2 separate regions of the Homo sapiens genome follow, and region 2 is linked to region 1. The links are contacts of gene promoters, found by promoter capture Hi-C in human tissues and cell types (Jung and others, 2019). All regions are on one chromosome and are shown on one strand. Each heading gives the region's core, a stretch centred on a gene start or on the middle of the fragment in contact. The rest is flanking DNA. Distances are from core to core; before and after follow the strand shown.

Region 1 (5,660 bases), core at 790-3,289:
CCTGCCTTGGCCTCCCAAAGTGCTAGGATTATGGGCGTGAGCCTCCGCACTCAGCCTAAATTTGCATTTTTAAGCGACTAAGTTTGAGATAATTTGTTATGCCAGCAGAAGAAAGCTAAGTTATCTTGGAGGTGATTTTTCTTTTTTTTTAGATGGAGTTTCTCTCTTGTTGCCCAGTTTGTCTCTTGGAGCCCCAGAGTGAAGGAGGCAGAACAGGCCCCAGGGCTCACCCCAGGCCGACCTCGGTGGGCTTGCGCAACACACAGGCATGATGTAGCCACCCTCCCATCCCCAGGCCCCCCTCAGCACTCCTCTTCGACTTTATTGACATTTATTTCCAAAACGTGACGATAGGCAAACTCAGATAAATGACACACATAGACCGCGTGAACCCTCTCATATTTACCAGATAATAAAATAGTAGCACTGACAAAGGCTCAATTTTTTTTTTTATTCTTCCCCAGAGACAGGCTCTGTTGCCCAGGCTGGTCTTGAACTCCTGGCCACAGGTGATCCTCCCACCTTTGTCTCCCAAAGTGTTGAGGTAAAAGGCATGAGCCACCGCACTCGGCCAATCTAATTTTTAAAAACACCTTTTCCTCACTGGCTGGAGCACGTTCTACTTTACTGGGAACTGAATGAATGTGCAACTCTAATTACAGCCCCTCCGAAGTGCAGTGGCTTGGGAACCTCCCGTTCCGGGAGGCGGCCTGCAGAGCCCTCCTCCTACAAGTGTGAGCACAGGGTCAGGGTTCCATCCAAGCGAGCACCTGCTTCCTATTTTCCGACTAATTTCGGTCCCCTGATACGGAATCCGGGATCCTGCAGACAGGCAGCGGGTGACAGCAAGCACAAGGGTGTTCGATGACACCTGGAGAGGTCAGGAGAGCCAGTCCTGCGGTGCAGAGGAAGAAACCCAGCACAGAGGCCAACAGAGCCAGCCCCAGCCTCTGCCAATAAAACATATAAATGAGCCCTGGGGGCTGGAGGAGGGCCACAGGATCCAAGCTGGCTGCCGGATCCGAGTGGGATCGGGGTGCCGACTGTGGGACATGGGTGGGATGGGGTGCCGGCTGCGGGACTCGGGTGGGATCGGGGTGCGGGCTATAGGACTGGGGCGGGATCGGGGTGTCATCTATGGGATCGAGGTGCTGGCTATGGGACTGGGGTGGGATCGGGGTGCTGGCTATGGGACTGGGGTGGGATCGGGGTATCAGCTATGCTATGCGATCGGGGTGAGTGCCGGCTGTGGGATCGGGGTGCCGGCTGCGGGACTGGGGTGGGATCGGGGTGCCGGCTGTGGGACAGCGGTGGGATCGGGGTGGGTGCCAGCTGTTGGGCTGGGGTGGGATCGGGGTGCCAGCTGCGGGACTGGGGTGGGATCGGGGTGCCGGCCGTGGGACAGCGGTGGGACCGGGGTGTTAGCTATGGGATTGGGGTGGGTGCCGGCTGTTGGGCAGGGGTGGGATCGGGGTGTCGGCTGTGGGACTGCGATAGGATCGGGGTGCTGGTTGTGGGACTGGGGTGACAGCTTGAGGGGTGACCGAGCCCTCCCGGCCGCTCCCGGATGCCCCTCGCCCTCCACGCTGGGAGCGCCGTGGCTGGCTGAGCCTCTGGCATGTTCCGCGTGAGTCCGCGCACCCTACAGCGTCCTCCTCCACAGCCTCGTGTTCAGGCGTCCGCCCCGCAGGGGAGTCCCCTCGCGCCCATTCACACACAGCAGCGTCCGGGCGAGGAGCGCCCGTACCTGGAGGCCTGAAGGTACCGCCCTGCCGCGCGTGGGCACTGCTCCCTGGCGCCGTCCGTCCACTGACCATCGTCCCTCGGCCCGGCCGCCCGCGCGGGGCAGGCAACGCCCGACCGGGGGCCTCGGGGACCAGGAGGAACCTGCGGCGTTAGGAGCTGACAGTGTCGGTCCGCGCACGCGCCCCGGGGCCCGTCGGGCCTTATTTCACGGCCCCGCCTTCCTCCTCCGCGAGCGCCAAATAAGTGTCCGGCCCTCCCAGCCCCGTGCGTGCGCGGCCCCGCCGCCTGCGTCACTAGGAAGCGCGCGCCCGCGCCGCCGCCGCCGCCGAATCCCCAACAAGGAGCGAAGCCCGCGGCCGCCGCCGCCGCCCGCCGCCGCCGCAGCTCCCGACGCCGCCGCCCCCGCCGGGTGCCTAAGCAGGCCCGGCGCGGCCCCAGGTAAGCGGCGCCGGCGAGCCCGCGGCCCCCCCGCGGCGAGGCCTCTCGCTCCGCTCACGCGCCGCCGTCCAGTCAGGGGTCCCTGCGGAGCGTCAGGACGTTACGGCGGGGGGAGGGGAGGGCCGGGGGAGGGGCGGCCGCGCGGGCGGCGGCGTCAGGCGCAACGGCGGCGTCAGGCGGGCGGCGCGGGCGGTGGCGGGCGCGGGCGGCGGCGCTTCCTGCCTCCATCTTGGCGCCGCGGGCGGGCGCGGGCTCGGCCTCCAGCGGCCTCCTCGGTGGACCCATCCCGGGGGGACCACGCCGCAGGGGTGCGACCCGCAGGGACCACCCCGCAGGCACCCGACCCGCAGGGACGCGACCCACAGGGACCACCCCGCAGGCACCCGACCCGCAGGGGCCACCACGCGACCCGCAGGGGCCACCCCACAGGGACGCGACCCACAGGGACCACCCCACAGGGACGCGACCCACAAGGACCACCCCGCAGGCACCCGACCCGCAGGGACGCGATCCCCAGGGGCCACCCCGCAGGCACCCGACCCGCAGGGACGCGATCCCCAGGGGCCACCCCGCAGGCACCCGACCCGCAGGGACGCGATTCCCAGGGGCCACCCCGCAGGCACCCGACCCGCAGGGACGCGACCCATAGGGACCACCCCGCAGGCACCCGACCCGCAGGGGCCACCCGGCAGGCACCCAACTCGCAGGGACGCGACCCGCAGGGATCACCCCACTGGGACCCACTCTCAGGGACCTGACCTGCAGGGACCACCCCACAGGGGCCCGCGTCACTGTAGGCTCACAGGCGGGACCTGGATCTGTGTAGACCCATGGTGGTGTGGACCCTGTTGGTCGGAGCTGATTTGTTGTGGGCCCGTCGTCAGTCATGGCATGTTATCTATTTGGTTACTGTGTAATTCATGCGTGACTGAAAAGTCGTGACTGACTTTTCTGTTGAACCAGAATTCTCTTTCTTTGCTAACACTTCAAATACAACAGTTTCAATTACATCAGTGTTGACCGTGCCGGTCAAGAATACTAGTTTAAAAATATTTTCTTGGGCCAGGTGTGATGGCTCACACCTGTAATCCCACCACTTTGGGAGCCCGACGTGGGCGGATCATGAGGTCAGGAGTTTGAGAGCAGCCTGGCTAACACGGTGAAACCCTGTCTCTACTAAAAATACAAAAGTTAGCCGGGCGTGGTGGTGTGCACTTGTAATCCCAGCTAGTTGGGAGGCTGAGGCAGGAGAATTGCTTGAACCCAGAAGGCAGAGGTTGCAGTGAGTGGAGATGGTGCCATTGCACTCCAGCCTGGGTGACGGAGCAAGATTGCGTCTCAAAAAAAAAAAAGTAAAATAAAATATTTTCTCATATCTGATTTACCTAATAATTTGGAAACTCACTTCACACTAGTGGGGAACCCAAGCCTTGGGATCAAAGCTGGGTGGGTCTTGGCTTCAACACAGAAGGGGCTGTGGAGAGGCCAGGTGTAGTGGCTCACACCTATAATCCCAGCACTATGGGAGGTCAAGGTGGGAGGATCACTGGAGGTCAGGAGTTCGAGACCAGCCTGGCCAACATGATGAAACCCCGTCTCTACCAAAAATGCAAAAATTAGCTAGGCGTGTTGGGTGCCTGTAGTCCCAGCTACTCGGGAGGCTGAGGCAGGAGAATCACTTCAACCCGGGAGGCGGAGGTTGCAGTGAGCCAAGATTTTGCCATTGCACTCCAGCCTGGGTGACAGAGCGAGACTCCATCTCAAAAAAACAAAGAAGGAGCTGTGGAGAGAGGAGGGGGTGCTCGCCCTTGGGAAGGCAATAGGGCGAGGTGCTCTATTCTATAGTGCTTCTTCTGTGTCTAAAGAGCATTGTATCAAGGACTTGCACTATTTTCTGTGAGGTAACTTTTGTGCATATTGCTTTGAACCTTTAATATAGTTGCCATTGGAGGCCAGGCTCAGTGGCTCACGCCTGTAATCCCAGCACTTTGGGAGGCAGAGGCGGGCGGATCACGAGGTCAGGAGATCGAGACTGTCCTGGCCAACATGGTGAAACCCCGTCTCTACTAAAAATACAAAAATTAGCCGGGCGTGGTGGTGGGCGCCTGTAATCCCAGCTACTCAGGAGGCTGAGGCAAGAGAATCGCTTGAACCCGGGAGGCAGAGCTTGCATTGAGCCGAGATCGGGCCACTGCAGTCCAACCTGGGCTACAGAGCGAGACTCCGTCTCAAAAAAAGAATATATGTATGTATGCAGTTGCCAATGGAGAGGCTGGAATTCAGTTTTGTGCGTGTACATTGCGTAATCCTCTGCAAAGCCCTGAAGCTGTGACGAGGACCCCTGCCTGCAGTGAGGCTGTTGCCTCTTTGCAGCTCTCTGCTTAAATGACTTTAGTTGCCCCTGCTGAGCTTACCCTTATGAAAGCAGCGTCTCCTCAGTGAGAGTTAAACCCCGAGAAGTCAGCACGGGAGATCAGTAGTATTTTAAATGAAATTTTTATTTTTTAATTTTAATTTTTTTTTTTTTGAGACAGAGTCTCGCTCTGTTGTCTAGGCTGGAGTGCAGTGGCACAATCTTGGCTCGCTGCAACCTCTGCCTCCGGAGTTCGAGAGATTCTCCTGCCTCAGCCTCCCAAGTAGGTGGGATTACAGGCACCCGCCACCATGCCCGGCCAATTTGTTTTTTTTTTTTTGTATTTTTAGTAGAGACAGGGTTTCATCATGGTGGCCAGGCTGGTCTTGAATTCCTGACCTCAGGTGATCCACCCGCCTCGGCCTTCCAAAGTGATGGGATTACAGGCGTGAGCCACCACGCCTGGCCAAATTTTTGAATTTTTTTTTTTTCTGAGACAGGGTCTTGCTCTGTCGCCCAGGCTGAAGTGTAGTGGTGCAGTCTTGGCACACTGCAGCCTCTGCCTCCCGGGTTCAAGCAGTTCTCTCACTTCAGCCTCCTGAGTAGCTGGGATTACATGGGCACACCACCACGCCCAGCTAATTTTTGTGTTTTCAGTAGAGACAAGGTTTTACCATGTTGGCCAGGCTGGTCTAACTCCTGACCTCAGGTGATCTGCTCGCCTCGGCCTCCCAAAGTGCTAGGATTATGGGCGTGAGCCACCACACCTGGCCTGAGTAAAATTTTAAAGTGGCTTTTTTTTTTTAAGAGAGAGTCTCACTCTGTCACCCAGGCTTGAGTGCAGTGGCATGATCTTGGCTCACTGCAACCTCTGCTGCCCAGGTTCAAGCGATTCTCCTGCCTCAGCCTCCCAAGTAGCTGAGATTACAGGCACCTGCCACCGCGCCCGGCTAATTTTTGTATTTTTAGTAGAGACGGGGTTTCACCGTATTGATCAGGCTGGTCTTTGAACTTCTGACCTTATGATCCACCCGCCGCGGCCTCCCAAAGTGCTGGGATTACAAGTGTGAGCCACCGCGCCCGGCCTAAAGTGGCTTTTTATTCATGTTTGTTTAAAGTTCTT
Region 2 (5,824 bases), core at 1,709-4,208, 480 kb before region 1:
CCCCACACGCAGCCCCACAAAATGCTCAGATGCACACTGACTGGCACCCATCACTCCCTCACCCCACACCCCAGACAGAGGATGTGCCATGTCAGTGGCCTTGCTGTCAGGCCCCCACCACCGTTCTGCCCAACAGAGCTGACCACGGCTCCCTCCCTCCCTGGCCTCTCCTCTCTTCACCCAAAGGGCCTCACAGGTTCATTTGAAAAGGCCAATTTATTTCTGAAAATGGAAACCATTTCCACAGAACGATGCTCTCACAAGCTCACAGCTGGCTGGAACAATGCCCAGCCCACGAACAGAGCAAAGGGCCTTTCTGAGCCCTGAGTGCTGGGGGTACAGACGGGGGAGCACCCCCGGCTCAGGCCCTGGTGTTGCAGCGGGCATCGGTGAGGTGCTTCTGGGAGGAGGAAAAGGCCCCTGGGGCTGCTGCTTTTGTGGCCAGGAGGACCTGACACCTCCAGCCGGCCTCCCCGGGGTCCTGAGCTCAGCACCTGGCAGTCTCCCCCATCCCCACTGCCCTCAGGGTCCCCATCCCTTCCATCATGCGCACCCCACCTCCAATGTGACCGGCGGGCGGTGGTGCCAGACCAGCCTTCAGGACAGGCTCAGGAGAGCAGAGCTAGAGTCTGGGAGGGGCTCCGATTCCCAGACTCACCAGATACCGGTGGAGGGAAGAGGACCCAGACTCGTGGTTGGCTTCAGAGGAAGCCAGACACACAGTGGGATCTTTGCATGGGAAGATTCTGTGCTCTGAGGGATGCCTCTGACACTGGGCTCCCCACTACTGAGGCTTAAGGGAAGACCCTCCTGGAACACCCTGCTCTGAAGAAGGTGTGGGTGGCAGTCGGTATCCTGCAGGGCAAAGACCAGCAGGGGTGCCCAGAGCTCAGGCCACACGGGGGTCACTGGGCAGGCTGCCAGCCAGCCCTGGGGGGCAGAGGAAGGCACCGGCACTAGCCTGGGCCCCTCCCAAAATGCATGGAAGGGAGAGGCCCCCAGCAATGCCCCCAGGGAGGCCCAGAGTCAGGCAGTGTGGCCAGCCCCACCCCAGGACAGCAGCTCGGTGACAGCAGGCCCCCAGGGAGGCCCAGAATCAGGCCAGCGTGGCCAGCCCCACCCCAGGACAGCAGCTCGGTGACAGCAGGCCTGGGACATTCTCCCAGTGCCCGGTGCTGAGGCCATGGTCGGCCGCTCCCCAGCCAAGACCAGTGACCGCCTGGCCCAGCCCACACCCTGGTCAATGCCTGGGCCACCACATGCCAGGCCTGGCCTCTCTGTGTCACGCCTCTGGTTTCCAGGAGCTGTGAACTGACCCCTCCCGACCCCACGAACACCCCAAATCACAAAATTCAGCCCCAATGCACCCTCTCCTCACGGCTGCTAATCACCATCCCCTGACCTTGTGGGCGTCAAGCTCCACTTATGTGACAAACTGTGGCTACAAGCCCCACGCTCCCTCGAGACACACCCACAGATCCCCCCCACCGCCATCCCCAAACTGGCTGAAGAGGAGTGTGAGATATCTCAGCAGGGTTCCCTGACCCCGGACTCAACATCCACATGGCACAGCCCATAGAAGGGTAGCTCGGGGCCCACCCACAGTGTACCCTCAGGCTGGCGACATCAGGGTACTCAGGGCGACTGCCCAGGCTCCTGTCCTAACCAATAGACTTGACAGAGCAACTCTCAGGAAAGAAGGCCGACCATGAGTGTGCGGTGACATCCTTGCAACCCCACAGGCAGCGGGCACAGTCTCGATGGGCAGACACATCTCCCCAGACTGAAAACACACAGTGACCAGGCACGGTGGGTCATGGCTATAACCTGAGCACTTTGGGAGGCTGAGGTAGAGGCTGAAGCTCAGGAGATCGAGACCAGCCTGGGCAACATGGTGAAACCCCGTCTCTACAAAAAAAAACACAAAAATTAGCCAGGCATGGTGGCACATGCCTGTAGTCCCAGCTACTTGAGAGGCTGAGGTGGGAGGATCACCTGAGCCCAGGGAGGTCAGGGCTGCAGTGAGCCATGATAGTGCCACTGCACCCCAGCCTGGGTGACAGGGCAAGACCCTGTCTCAAAAAAGAAGAAAGGAAAGAAAACACAGACCCTCTGACCCAACACGTCTCCGCTGAGGAGCGGCTCTGAGACTGGCGACTGCTCGTGTCAGCTGTGGCGTTGCCTGCAAAGCAGGTCCAGATGCGGCCGAGCTGCACACACACGGGTTGGATAAGCCAGGGTGCGTCCAGCAAGGAAGAAAAGCAGGGAGAAGGGAAGGACTTAAAGACCAACCCAGAGCAGAGTGTGATGCTCACCACCTCTGCAGGACGGCGGGAGAGTTACGTGTCAGCGTGAGAACGTCTTCTCTGCAGCCTTTCACAGCTTGCCTAGGCTGAGTTCCTCTTTTAGCAAAAGACAAAAAAAGAAGGTGGGTTGCCTATGGCCAACAAGTTCTGCTTCCACATGAGGGCATACAGACCCCCCAGATGCCCACACTCAGCCAAGGACATGTAGACCCACTCAGATACAACGCAGAGCTCACCCACAGAGACCCCCATACAGGCAGACACAGGCCCACACACGTACATGTCCTAACTGGCACACACACACAGGAACACACCATGTACACACACAGGGTGGGGCAGGAGACCCACCAAGACACCCATGTTCACAGATAAGGGTGCCCAGGCCCACAGTGACTCCCGGACAGAGGCACAGATGCCTTCAGTGCCCTCTGCCCGAAGACCTGGGCACACCCAGAGGCCCCTGCATGGAGTCCCTTCCTGACACACAGGCGCACACGTGCCTCAGCCGCCCACTGAGGAGTCTGCCTGGGTAAGTGAATGCTGAGGAGACCCTGGGACAGCCGACTGCAGGCGCTACTGCAGCTCAGGGGAAGGTGGGGCCTGCCTTCCGGGCTCCACGTCAGCAAGGGGGATCCGCCTCCCTCCCTCACCAGCATCAGCACTGACACCAGGCTGGGAACCTCGCAGCCGGGGCTGAGGCAGCCAGCAGGGCAGGTCTTGAAACTCCTGAAACCTCAGCTGGAGGTCTGTCAGTGAGGACCACACCTCGCCCTCCATCCCTGCGACTGCCTGTACTGGCCAAAACCAGGAACACACCAAGGCTACCAACTTCTGGACTCGAAGCACTGGACAGGTCAGTGGAGAGAAGAGTAGCTGGACCAGCAGGGTCTGCAGCATCTCTCGGGAGGGTGTGAGGGAGGGTGCAGACTCCAAGACCCCTGAGGGAAGGACCTTCAGATTCAAGGGAGCCAGAGATGAGCTTGGGAGGTGTGTTTCCAAAGGGACCGCTTGATTCTACGCAGCCCGTGCATCTGCGGGTTGCTGGGGCAGGGACGGATCCACATCTCTTCCCAGGAGGGTGGCCAGCAGCTGCTCTCTGCGGGAGGAGGGAACTGATCTGCTGAAGTCTCACCAGGAAGAGGCGGGAGGAGGCCCCCACACACCCCACCAGGCTCCCTCTGGCCCCATGTCCTTGACCTGGCAAAGTGGCCGCAGTCTCTGCCAGAGAACCTGGAGTGGCTGTGCCCTAACAGACGGCCGGATCTCAAAGTCTCTGGTTGTTTTTCTTTCCTAGAATCCAGCCCAAGGAGGCCCCCAACCAGATACCCAACTCCAAGGCACCTCCCACCTGCCCAGGGCGCAAATCGTCAACGGTCCCAGCTACAATGCAGGCCGCTGGGCACCCAGAGCCCCTTGACAGCAGGGGCTCCTTCTCCCTCCCCACGATGGGTGCCAACGTCTCTCAGGACAATGGCACTGGCCACAATGCCACCTTCTCCGAGCCACTGCCGTTCCTCTATGTGCTCCTGCCCGCCGTGTACTCCGGGATCTGTGCTGTGGGGCTGACTGGCAACACGGCCGTCATCCTTGTAATCCTAAGGGCGCCCAAGATGAAGACGGTGACCAACGTGTTCATCCTGAACCTGGCCGTCGCCGACGGGCTCTTCACGCTGGTACTGCCCGTCAACATCGCGGAGCACCTGCTGCAGTACTGGCCCTTCGGGGAGCTGCTCTGCAAGCTGGTGCTGGCCGTCGACCACTACAACATCTTCTCCAGCATCTACTTCCTAGCCGTGATGAGCGTGGACCGATACCTGGTGGTGCTGGCCACCGTGAGGTCCCGCCACATGCCCTGGCGCACCTACCGGGGGGCGAAGGTCGCCAGCCTGTGTGTCTGGCTGGGCGTCACGGTCCTGGTTCTGCCCTTCTTCTCTTTCGCTGGCGTCTACAGCAACGAGCTGCAGGTCCCAAGCTGTGGGCTGAGCTTCCCGTGGCCCGAGCAGGTCTGGTTCAAGGCCAGCCGTGTCTACACGTTGGTCCTGGGCTTCGTGCTGCCCGTGTGCACCATCTGTGTGCTCTACACAGACCTCCTGCGCAGGCTGCGGGCCGTGCGGCTCCGCTCTGGAGCCAAGGCTCTAGGCAAGGCCAGGCGGAAGGTGACCGTCCTGGTCCTCGTCGTGCTGGCCGTGTGCCTCCTCTGCTGGACGCCCTTCCACCTGGCCTCTGTCGTGGCCCTGACCACGGACCTGCCCCAGACCCCACTGGTCATCAGTATGTCCTACGTCATCACCAGCCTCAGCTACGCCAACTCGTGCCTGAACCCCTTCCTCTACGCCTTTCTAGATGACAACTTCCGGAAGAACTTCCGCAGCATATTGCGGTGCTGAAGGGCCTGGGCACCATCACCCCCATCATCATGCCCATCATCACCCCCCATCATCATCACGCCCATCATCATCATGCCCACACCCCCATCAGGCCCACCCCCCCCCACCCCCACCACCACCCCCACCATCACCCCCACCACCACCCCCATCATCACGCCCATCATCATGCCCACCCCCATCACATCCACCATCACGCCCACCCCCATCACCCCCACCCCCACCATCACGCCCACCATCACCCCCACCCCCACCCCCACCCCCATCATCACGCCCACCCCCCCCACCACCCCCACCATCACCCCCATCATCACGCCCACCCCCACCCAGTTCCGGCTGTCTCTTTCAGGGGACGCCCGGCCTGTTCACATCCCAGTGCTGTCCTCTCCACGCAAGGAGACACAGACCCTCACACGCTGGCCACCAGACCTACAGACAGCCGTGGGCATATACCTCCCATGTCTCTGCTTCCTGGACAGCCCCTGGGTGGACAGCAGCAGGGATCCAGGTCCTGGCAGAGGCCCCCACACAGCAAGCATCCCGGGCCCACTTACCCACGAGAGACAGACAGATGGACAAGCCCCTTGGAAGGCTCTGGGACTCAGGATCCCTAATGACAGTGGTCGGGAGGGGAGGGAACCTGAACTGTGATCTTGACCTGGGCCACGTTACATAGTCTCTCCCCAAGATGGGGCCGGGGGGTGGTAAGTGCGGGCACCTCAGGCAGCAGCGATGCTGTGTTGCTGCAAAGGCGGACACCTGCACCGCATGAGACCCAGAAATCCACTCTCGTGGCCTGAAGCCCAAGTGGAGTTCCAGCAGGAGGCCCAGCCCCGCCGTGCCCATGTGCCATGGCCTGTGCTGCTGTGTTCCCCCTGCTGTGGCCGACGGTCCTTGCCATGGCCTGTACCCGCCCTGCTGTGTCCGACAGTCCTCTCCATGGCCTGTGCTCCCCTGTGCCCCCCTGCTGTGTCCGACGGTCCTCTCCATGGCCTGTGCTCCCCTGTACCCCCCTGCTGTGGCCGACAGTCCTCACCATGGCCTGTGCTCCCCTGTGCCCCCCTGCTGTGGCCGACAGTCCTCACCATGGCCTGTGCTCCCCTATACTCCCCTGCTGTGGCCGACGGTCCTCTC

What was found. The method cuts DNA at HindIII sites, captures the fragments that hold promoters and counts their contacts. A contact is called where the count stands out against the background at its distance.
Region 2: the fragment with the promoter of NPBWR2 here is called in contact with the fragment with the promoter of GMEB2 in region 1 in 4 of the 25 tissues and cell types used here (heart left ventricle, lymphoblastoid cells, mesendoderm cells and 1 more).

Annotation. Positions count from the first base shown.
Region 1 is chr20:63,623,480-63,629,139 of GRCh38, reverse strand. It overlaps GMEB2 (glucocorticoid modulatory element binding protein 2), which reads left to right and starts at 2,039. Exons shown (of 10, transcript NM_012384.5): 1 at 2,039-2,184. It overlaps MHENCR (melanoma highly expressed competing endogenous lncRNA for miR-425 and miR-489), which reads right to left and starts at 1,905. Exons shown (of 2, transcript NR_132417.1): 1 at 1,748-1,905; 2 at 316-950. RefSeq lists silencers at 1,598-2,047, 2,138-2,677. The HindIII fragment of the contact is 46,766 bases long and covers 1-5,660 here.
Region 2 is chr20:64,104,699-64,110,522 of GRCh38, reverse strand. It overlaps NPBWR2 (neuropeptides B and W receptor 2), which reads left to right and starts at 2,958. Exons shown (of 2, transcript NM_005286.4): 1 at 2,958-3,159; 2 at 3,601-5,824. The coding sequence starts at 3,692. The coding sequence ends at 4,693. RefSeq lists a silencer at 743-926 and an enhancer at 2,910-3,410. The HindIII fragment of the contact is 24,186 bases long and covers 1-5,824 here.